Linked DNA regions of Homo sapiens: all the other regions are linked to region 1. Evidence: promoter capture Hi-C in 16 types of primary human blood cells and fetal thymus (Javierre and others, 2016). All regions are on one chromosome and are shown on one strand. Each heading gives the region's core, a stretch centred on a gene start or on the middle of the fragment in contact. The rest is flanking DNA. Distances are from core to core; before and after follow the strand shown. Region 1 holds the start of CD200 (CD200 molecule). Region 2 overlaps RMP64 (ribonuclease MRP subunit p64). Region 3 has its middle 2.8 kb from the start of GTPBP8.

Region 1 (3,471 bases), core at 448-2,947:
CAGCAATGTTAAGAAACAAAACACAGTGATTGAGGCAAAGGAAATCAGAAGGAAAGCCTTACTCTTAAATAGATACGTATTTTTATTTTACAGGTTTTTTTTTTCCTCGAGTCTGTGCAGAATAACTGAAAATACGACCAATCTGAAAACAACAGTATTTATATGTTTACAGGGAGGTGACCGGGGCTAAAACAAATACTAGATTTGTGAGCAAAAGAAATCATTTTACCTCTCTGAGACTCCGGAAAAGTAATAGTACCAATCTAATGGTTAAAAAGACTAAATGAAGTAGTATATAAAGCTCCTAGAATACTGCCAGTAGAAATAAGCACTAAATAAATGTTGCTCTTATCTCACATAGTTATTATGAGAATTAGGCAATTAAAGCACTTAGTATAGAGCCTAGGTTATAGTAAATGCCAATACGTGTTAGGTAGCTAAAAAAATTAATCGATCAAATCATATAGGGGGAACTACAGTCCTGAAAACAAAGAAGCCCACTTATAACCCTTGCCATGCAGTCCAGGGTTCACAAAAACCTGGGTCTTACCAGACAGCTGCCCACCTGGTAGCTATATTGCCCCTATTCATGCCTCTTCCTCAGCAAGTTTCTATGTCCAAATCCACATTACCCCACATGTAGTCACAAGGACTTGGAAATATCAGCCTTTCCGCCTGTTTATGTGTAAAACGAGGTAATAATTCATTTTTAGAAGGATAGTTACAAAGAAGATTAACAGCATCTAGCTTGCAGTAGACCGTAGCTCACAGACCACCATTCTCCTTTGTTAAGAAAGACAGTGAAATCATTGGCTATGTGGTCTTGCCAACAAACCATACATGAAAAAATTATCTTGAGGCATTCACTGTATTTGGATTCTTATACCAATACCATTGTATTTGGATTTCATATACCAATGGGATATATGAAAACCTTCTCCGTTTTTTGTCTTGTAAGCTGGTTCCGAATAAACAAAATGTCTGTTTCTCTAGATACCCGGGGTTAACCCTTCAAAGCATTATGATCACAGAGCATTTCAGCTCTCTCAAGTGTAGCTTCAGCTTTAACTGATCCTTCATGGCTTCCCCCAGGCAAGGGCTAGGAGGGAGAAAGGGGCTGCATAACAAAGAGGAGACGCAGGAGCTCTCCCGGAGAAAGCGAGCCTGGAAATCTGTATCTCCGCCGCAGCTTTTGGTGCCAATATGGAACCAATACAGCATTTCTCTTTCCCTTTTGGGGGCAGTTTAAAATAGGCTGTGCCTCCCCAGTTTTGGGAGCTGGAGCCAGTGAGCCGAGCCGAGCCTGCCCGGAGGATGCGCCAGCTTCGTCAGCGCGGATCAAGAGCCCCCGGAGCCCCGGCCTGGTGCATCTTTTTTTCAGGCAATTGGAATGGAGAATCTGGACGCCAGCAGCTGCCTGTAAACCACCCTTTGGAAGGCAAAATCCGTTTCTCAGCAAGAGAAAGCGCTTAGAGAAAAGCGCTGCCATCAACACCGCTGATCTAGTCCCCGGACCAGATTGTGGCAAGAGCCGAAGCTCCGCGCCTTCCACTCGCCGCCCGCCCCAGGGCCACCGGCTCAACATCGCCTGCCCTGCGCCCTCCTTCCCAAGCCCCGGCCCCGCTCACCAGCCTCTCCATCCTTGCTCCTGGAGGCGCGCGCGAGGTGGCTGACTGCGGATGTGCGCCTGGAGCTCTGCTAGGCAGGCGGGAGGAGCGTCACCTGTGCCCCTGCCGCACCTCCCGCCTCTTCCTCCTCGCTAGCCCCCTTCTCCCACTCCGTTTTCCCCACGCCCTCACAGGAGCGGAGGCTGTCTGTGTGGGGGGAATTAAATGATGTTTATATTCAGCTTTGTCTATTTTCAGACATTTTTCCCTTTTCAAAGGTGACCGCTGGGGAAACTGACAAAGTGTTTGGAAAAAAAAAATCATTTTTTTTTTTCCATTTTCCTGCTACCTGGACTGAGAAAGGAAATGAGGTGGGAGGTTGTGGAGATCAGTTGTTGACCTGTTAGCTCTTGATGTAGTGGCAAAGGATTCAAGCTGAATTTAACCAATGGACTTTTTTTTTTTTTTAAAGAAAAAACTTACATTTATTATTTTTAAATCCAGATTCAAATTATATATTTAAGCAATTCCGTAATGATTTCACCTTTCATGATGTGATCAATTCTTTGGTGAAGAGTTTCCTTCCACTTGCATTAATGATGAGGATTCTTTTTTCCCTTCTCCTTCTCCTTCTTCTCCTTCTTCTTCTTCTTGAGACGGAGTCTCGCTCTGTGGTCCAGGCTGGAGTGCAGTGGCGCTATCTTGGCTCACTACAAGCTCCGCCTCCCGGGTTCCCGCCATTCTCCTGCCTCAGCCTCCCGAGTAGCTGGGACTACAGACGCCCGCCACCATGCCCGGCTAATTTTTTGTATTTTTAGTAGAGACGGGGTTTCACCATGTTAGCCAGGATGGTCTCGGTCTCTTGACCTCGTGATCCGCCCGCCTCGGCCTCCCAAAATGCTGGGATTACAGGCGTGAGCCACTGCGCCCGGCCCTCCTCCTCCTCTTCCTCCTTCTCCGTCTCCTTCTCCTTCTCCTTCTCCTCCTTCTCCTTCTCCTCCTCCCCCTCCCCCTCCTCCTCCTCCTTCGTCTTCTTCTTCTTGTTCCAGAGTTCTTGGCTCTTAAAAAAAAAAAAAAAAGGACAAAGAAATCATCAAGTGTTCACCTCCTGAAGGCTTTTGTGTTTTACTACTACCACCCTCTCATAAGGAGCTGGGACAAAGCTTTGGGGTTTTGTTTTTGCTTCTTTTTACAGACAAAGTCTCGCTCTGTTGTCCAAGCTGGAATGCAGTGGTGCGATCATAACTCACTCCTGGGCTCAAGGGATCCTCTCACCTCAGCCTCTAGAGTAGCTAGAATGATAGTTGTGCAGCCACTATGTCCAGCTTTTTTTTTTTTTCCAGACACGGGGTCTTGTGTTGCCCAGGCTGGCCTGAAATTCCTAGCCTCAAATGCTCCTTCTACCTTTGCCTCCCAAAGCAGTGGGATTACAGGCATGAACCACTGCACCTGACCTATTCTCCCACTTCTTTTTTTGGGGGGGGGGCGGTGGGAGACGGGGGCGGAGTCTCGCTCTGTCGTCCAGGCTGGAGTGCAGTGGCGCGATCTCGGCTCACTGCAAGCTCTGCCTCCTGGGTTCACGCCATTCTCCTGCCTCAGCCTCCGAAGTAGCTGGGACTACAGGCGCCCGCCACCACGCCCGGCTAATTTTTTTTGTATTTTTAGTAGAGACGGGGTTTCACCGTTTAGCCAGGATGGTCTCGATCTCCTGACTTCATGATTCGCCCGTCTCAGCCTCCCAAAGTTGTGGGAATTACAGGCGTGAGCCACCGCGCCCGGCCCCTATTCTCCTACTTCTAACACCATAGACTAGGCTCACCTGATTTTGAATTTTATATGAATGGCATCGTAGCATATGTCTTCA
Region 2 (3,471 bases), core at 640-3,139, 670 kb before region 1:
TGGCTCAGGTATCAAAACTTCAAAGCATCATCTGAGACAGAGAAGATCACAGAATAAATTTTTACGGAGACAAAGGAAACCACAGAGAAAGTTGCAGTCGACTCTTTTAAGGGAAATTCAGCAGTTCTCTCAAGGGACTCGGAAGAGTGCTACAGATACCAGTGCTAAGTGGAGACTCTCACACTGTACTGTGCATAGAACTGATCTCTACCCTAACAGTAAGCAGCTCTTGAATAGTGGAGTTTCAATGCCTGTCATACAAACTAAGGAGAAAATGATTCATGAAAATCTTAGAGGCATCCATGAAAATGAAACTGATTCGTGGACGGTGATGCAAATAAATAAAAACAGTACATCAGGAACCATTAAGGAGACAGATGACATTGATGATATTTTTGCTTTAATGGGAGTTTAGATGTTCGTTCATATGTGAGACTTTTAAGTGATTAACAAGGCTAGTTCAGTGTTCTAAGTAGAACTGCTAAGATCTGGAAGTACCACCTGGACTCACAGAGGAGCTGCTTTAGTGCAGCATTGCACAGGAGTTCATTTCAGTTCAGTCTACATTTAAAGTAGCATTGTGTCATTTCATCAACAAGTATTTCTTTTTTGGCTTCAACTACATGTCAGGTGTTAATATGAAAAATCTGCCACAGCCTACCCTTGAGAAGCAGATGTAATTCCTTGAGTGAGGCTAGTAAGTCTCTGAAAAACTGAATAATTTTATGACTTACTAGGCAATTTAATAATCGTTTGCAAAAACCATTGTGTCTTGAGGTAAATGAGGAGCGGGGGTGGGAGATAGCAAGGAAACACCTGAAAGGTCAATTTGGTCTTATTGGCTCCATTATACATAGGTCCGCCTCTGAATACTAAAGTTTGTAGCTCCTGACATTTATGTTTTCTTGTTTATATGTTGGAATTGATCAACAAGGTTTGCCACTGCTTGTATTACCAGGGACTGGTTACAACCATTATTTCTCTTCATTTGCTTGGCTTATCTCATATTAAAGTGAGTTTGGAGTTCTCCAAAACGTTTTAATTTTATTTATTTGGGTACCAGTGATTGATTCCAAATAAACCTTTTTACAAAAAGGCAATAAGGTGGTTTATGGTTACATATGAAATATAATAGGATAACAGGTAGATGAGAAAGTAAAATGAAAAAATGAGGTTAGGAGATACAAAGTAGACCCAGGAATGAGGCTAGAACATTTATAATTTGGTGTTGATGCTGTCATCTGATAGGGGATGTTGCTCGTACTGTTGCTCTGAGGGGAGTACATCTTGAGTATTTTCAAATAATGATGTGAAGTTTGAGGTAGGTATCTTTCCAATGTTCTAACTTTACTAGAATTAGGTTATTAAGCTTCTCTAGTGCCCTTAACTTTTGTTACATAGAGATTTAAAGAAAAAGAAAGTAGTACCTTAGTATGTACCGCATCCTTCTTTTCCTCAGCCACCCTATCATAACAGAAGTTATTTCCCTTCCATTCTTTATTTGGCTTTGTTCTTTCCCTGTCTGCCTTCTCCATTTTCTCAGTTATCTCTACCAGTGGTTCTCAAACTTTAGACTTTTTGAGAATCACCTGGTGGGTTGCTAAAAGATGCAGATTAGCCCTTTCCCAGAGACTGATAAACAGGGGCCAGAAACCTGCATTTTTAACATGGAGCCCAAGTGATTTTGATCCAGGTGGCCCCCAAATCCAGTTATATAAACACTACTTTAGCTTCTCTCCTGAAGCCTTAAGTAAACTGGTTTAATTCTTAATCTGTAGTCAGTTTTCATATTCCTTTTGGCTTTCTACCAAGTGGTAGTATCCATTTAGTGCCTTAAAATACAGACAATACCAAGGAGATTTCATTCTAGACAAGTCTAGAAATGGCCATTAACTTCTAAGTGTCCTTGTGTTCAATGAATATCCTTTACCTATTGGGAAATAGAAGGTAAATTAGTAAGAGAACTGGTGTATAGCTTTGTGGACCATAGGGCTTATTTGCTGAGAGTTGTCTATATTCATGCACCCAGTCCCCTAAGTAGCCTCTTTTAATACTTCATTTAGCTGATTCAGAAAAAAACTCCCTGGGAATTAGGAGATTTAAGGTTCAGTCTTGCTTCTCCTACTTGTGGCTTCACTGAGCTAGTCAGTTTCCTCAGGCTTAGGTTTCTGGATTTGAAGTGGAATTTTTTCAAGAATGAAACTTTTATAGCTGAAATAAACTTTGGAGCTTATCTTTCATTGGAAAAACCAGGGTGGTTCAGTGAGTTAAGGACAATATAGCATGGACTGGGCTGCCAGTCTAGCATTTGTTTCCAAATTCATTCATGTTCTTTTGGAGTATCTTCATCTCCTCTCATTTTCCCATCTTCTGCCCTTTACTATTCTGGGAAAATGGCAAAAAAGCTTCACATGTGTCCACAAAATGACAATTTGTATGTTTATAAGGAATTCAGTATTCTGTATCAGTTACTTTTTCCAAATAAATCCAAATATTTAACATTTAAAAAAATGCAATCTAAAGTATACCAAACTGTAACTTACCTAGTAAATGAGATTAGAAACTATTGTCAGGGTCATCGTAGTGAATTATTATTATTATTATTTTTTGAGACAGAGTCTTGTGCTGTTGCCCAGGCTGGAGCACAGTGGTATGATCTCAGTTCACTGCACCCTCCACCTCCTGGGCTCAAGCTATTCTCCCACCTCAGCCGCCTGAGTAGCTGACACTATAGGCACCACCATGCCCTGGCTAATTTTTTAAAAACTTTGTGTAGAGATAGGGTTTCACCATGTTGCTTAGGCTGGTCTCAAACTCCTGGACTCAAGGGATCCACCCACTTTGGTCTCCCAAAGTGCTGGGATTACCCACATCCTAGTACCAACTTTATCACTTCTGATGGCATTAGGACACACAGGCCATTTATAAGAGCAGTGTTTGAGACCTCCTGTGTGTCACTTCCAATCCTCTTGGCCTTCATACTAAAGTCACTGCTGTGGCAACCAGTTTCAAGCAGGGCTGAACCTTGCCTCTTGCTCTGGGGATGTCTCACTTCCTGCCCCTGGGCTTCTCACCAGCTACAGGAACTGCCTAGCACTTGGGTATGTACAACCTGGAAGAGGTGTGGGGCCACCCCATCCCCTCCTCAAAGAAATTCACAGGCACAGTATGAGGCTAAAGTAACTTCCATCTTGGATGCTAATCTACCATGTTGACTTCTGATAACCAGTTCCTGGAATGCCCTCTAAGATTTCTACTTTTATCTATTAAAAGAACACACACACACACACACACTGTAAATCCTGGCCTTAAGCAAGTTATAGGCTAAGTTGTAAACAGCATTCTTGCCTTTCCCTGAGGAGGTGACTTCAGTGTCTCACATGTTCCTTCATGTACCCCCTTTTCTCTATGGCATATAAGCCCTGGGTCGGGGGGTAACTGTGGGGATCACTGCCTGAGACATGGCTTCTG
Region 3 (3,471 bases), core at 662-3,161, 650 kb before region 1:
ATCACCAAACAGTCTTTGTGTGAGCAACAAGGCTGTTTATTTCACCTGGGTGCAGGTGGGCTGAGTCCCAAAAGAGAGTCAGCAAAGGTGGTGGGATTATCATTAGTTCTTATAGGTTTTGGGACAGGCGGTGGAGTTAAGAGCAATGTTTTAGGGGCAGAGGGTAGATCTCACAAAGTACATTCTCAAGGGTGGGGAGAATTACAAAGAAACTTCTTAAGGGTGGGGGAGATTATAAAGAACATTGATCAGTTAGGATAGGGCAGAAACAAATCACAATGGTGGAATGTCATCAGTTAAGCTGTTTTCCCTTCTGTGGATCTTCAGGCCTTCTGGATGTATACGTGCAGGTCACTGGGGATATGATGGCTTAGCTTGGGCTCAGAGGCCTGACGCTGTGTATGTAATATACTTTGAAAGTGCTTTTATACATGCCATTTTGTTTTCAAACCTTGGAACCCCAGGTTTGGAAATAAGAGCATAAAAGAGTTTTGGCGATTCTTAGAAAGGTTTTAGAGGTGTTCCGGGATTAATAGACATTATAGTATTCATTTAATAATCATTCATGTTTCTGAATTCTAAATCATTTTGGATTTCACCTGATAGGACAAATCATTTTAGAATTATTTGACAGGACAGTTTTTGCAACAAATTGTCTTGTCATGCAAAGCTTGAAGGATCAAACGGTCTACTGGAAAGAAGTATGACTAGTAAAACCACTTGACAATTTATATATTTTTTTCTCTTTCACTTCATCTTTTAAAAGCATCTGTGTAAACAAAGCATATAAAACTTCAGGATGATTTAGAGTTAATAATACACTATGTTTTCCCTCAACATGATTAAACTCATAATTTGCAGAAGTTCAAATATGAAACATACATAGCAGTGAGACCTACTAGTGAGACAGGTGAGGGCTAGAATTGGGAGGAATTAGTTTATAATAACCCCATTGTAGGGCTGCAGTGGAAATCATCTGGTCTACAGGGAATTATCAAAGCCCAGGAAAAGAGGCTCACACCTGTAATCCTAGCACTTTGGGAGGCCAAGGCAGGAGGATCGCTTGAGCCTGGGCAACAAAACGAGACTGTCCCTAAAAAAATAATAAAAACAAAATTAGTATTGAAGGGAATCAAGTCTGGTGGATAGGATGTTGTGACAGGACTTTCTGGGTTCTGGCAATAGTACTGTGAATCTGTTGTTGTTGGCAGCATCTTGGTTCGAGGTGGTCTTTTTGTGTGTGGAGTAGGAGCTTAGCCAATAAGTGTAGATTGGGAGTCAGGATCTAGCCTGCTAGATCAGGACTAGGTCAGGGCTAAGATTCAGAATAGGGTTTTAGTCCAAGTAGGGAAAAGAAGGACTGTAGATTAGAAAATCTTGCTGTCTAATATGCGCCTCCCATTTCCTAGGTCCAAAACAGAATTTCTAATATCCTTTAATTGTCTCCTAATCTGTAAGAGACAATGGCACCTCCATTCCTCCAATTGACTTAGCTGAAAATCTTGGGAGAAAATTCTGGACTCCTTTTTCTGTTACCCCAAGTCCAAGTTGTTAGCAATCCCCTTGGCTTTACCTTGAAAACATATCCTGAATTGGATACTTTTTAGCACATCCACTGCCACCACCCTGATACAAGCCACCATTATCTCCCACCTAGATTATTGCAGTAGCTTTCAAATTGATCACCCACCTTTGCCCTTTGCCCCCTTCAGTATATTTGCAACATGGTGATAGGGAAGTGGGGCAGGGAAGTGGGGCAGGGAATTGTGAGGAGAAGGGCAGGTCCCTGGCTAGAGCTCCACCCCCGGCCTGTGCCCACGGACCTAGGTGAGGACAGGCACTTCTGGCTTTGTGCCCAAATGTTGCATTTCCCAAAGCCACCCAGGTCTGCCACACCCCCATCCTGTGCCTATAAAAACCCCGACACCTAGCAGGCAGACACACAAGTGGTTGGACCTTGAGAGGAACACCTTGGTGGAAGAAGACACGAGCTGCTGGATGTCAAGAGGACGTCGAGGGGAGCAAGCTGCCCACCAGCAGGCCATTGACCAGTAGAATGATGCAGAGTTTGGCCGGGGCGGTTGGAGGGCTGCTGAGTGGCTGAACTCCTGGGGAAAACCATCTCCCTTCTGGCTCCCCTATCTGCTGTGAGCTACTTCCAGTCAAAACCATGCACTCATTCTCCAAGCCCATGTGTGATCCGATTCTTCCAGTACACCAAGGCAAGAACCCAGGATATAGAAAACTCTTTGTCCTTGTGACAAGGTAGACGGTCTAATTAGCTGGTTAACACAAGCTGCCTATAGATGACAAAACTAAAAGCGCACACGGTAGCAGATGCCCACTGAGGCTTCAGGAGCTGTAAACATCCACCCCTAGATGCTGCCGTGGGGTCGGAGCCCCACAACCTGCCTGTCTGTATGCTCCCCTAGAGGTTTGAGCAGTGGGGCCCTGAAGAAGCGAGCCATTCCTTGTCACATGCCCTTCGAGCGGGACAAGAGTACTTTTCCCATTTCAGTGGCAGCAACCATGATCCTGTTAAAACATAAGCTAAACCTCCAAGAGCTTCCTGTCTCACTCATAGAAAAAGTTCTTGCACTAACCTAAAAAGCCCTACATGAACTTTCATTTTCTTCTTCCACTCTTGTCTGACTTCATCTATTGTTATTTTTCCCCTTTTCTACTCCATTCCAGCCACACTGGCTTCCTTGCTGTTTTTCAAGCAAGCCATATACACACACCTGCCTCTGTGTCCTTGTACTTCTCCCTGGAATGCTTACCCCAGATAATCACATGGCTTATTCCCAGTTTGACTTAGGATGTATTTATGGCCAACCTTCTGAGAAAAAGTGCCTTCTGTTTTGATAACGAGGAGGTAGTTTACCACAAAGTTAACAAGGTTTTAAAAATTTAATATGACTTTGACAGGCGTTACTTTATACATCATCCCCAGAATCAGCTTTTATTGCTAAAATTCATCTGCCCTAAATGTCATAGTTATACTCTGTCATGCTCAGCTAAGAATAGAAGGAAGATAGGTAGGACAGGATCCTCTCAATTGTTCTTACTGCGATGTCTGCCTCTATAGTGAATGGCCATTAGGTCCAGAGTGATCCCAATTTATGTCCAGGTCCTATAGGTTTCAAGCTTATGGAATCCATCTAAGACATGAAGAAGGTAAACTTTGTAGGCCTAGATAGGTAGGGGCACTGGGAACATCAGATAACTCCCATCCTAAGTTAAACATGGTTTGAATGTCCTGACAGAAGCAAGAGCAGGGACTCTAGCAAAACTTACTTCTAGAAATAGAGAGAGGGAATGGATTAGGTCTCAGTGTCTGATTTCCACTAGACCTTTCTTACCCTGACTTTTCTGCTTGTCTTAACAACAATAATGAACATTTATTGGGTGTCTGCTATGCCAGGAATTTATCTGAGTACTGATAAACTATGAGAAAGACCTGGTTACATT

Evidence for each region. Contacts are between HindIII fragments. The CHiCAGO score rates a contact against its expected background, and 5 or more counts as called.
Region 2: a fragment that was not itself captured here is called in contact with the fragment with the promoter of CD200 in region 1 in 1 of 17 cell types (activated CD4 T cells); the score reaches 7.6 in activated CD4 T cells.
Region 3: a fragment that was not itself captured here is called in contact with the fragment with the promoter of CD200 in region 1 in 1 of 17 cell types (activated CD4 T cells); the score reaches 5.8 in activated CD4 T cells.

The regions. Positions count from the first base shown.
Region 1 is chr3:112,331,382-112,334,852 of GRCh38, reverse strand. CD200 (CD200 molecule) reads right to left here and starts at 1,697. Exons shown (of 6, transcript NM_005944.7): 1 at 1,629-1,697. The coding sequence starts at 1,640. LOC105374042 (a long non-coding RNA gene) reads right to left here. Exons shown (of 5, transcript NR_147411.1): 5 at 2,099-2,667. RefSeq lists enhancers at 116-1,072, 1,073-2,030. The HindIII fragment of the contact is 4,002 bases long and covers 1-2,772 here.
Region 2 is chr3:113,002,480-113,005,950 of GRCh38, reverse strand. RMP64 (ribonuclease MRP subunit p64) reads left to right here. Exons shown (of 9, transcript NM_015412.4): 9 at 1-3,471. The coding sequence ends at 415. Among named protein-coding and RNA genes, the nearest start is that of GTPBP8, 13 kb to the right of the region's middle. The HindIII fragment of the contact is 1,036 bases long and covers 1,372-2,407 here.
Region 3 is chr3:112,986,486-112,989,956 of GRCh38, reverse strand. No RefSeq gene overlaps it. Among named protein-coding and RNA genes, the nearest start is that of GTPBP8, 2.8 kb to the left of the region's middle. The HindIII fragment of the contact is 2,477 bases long and covers 673-3,149 here.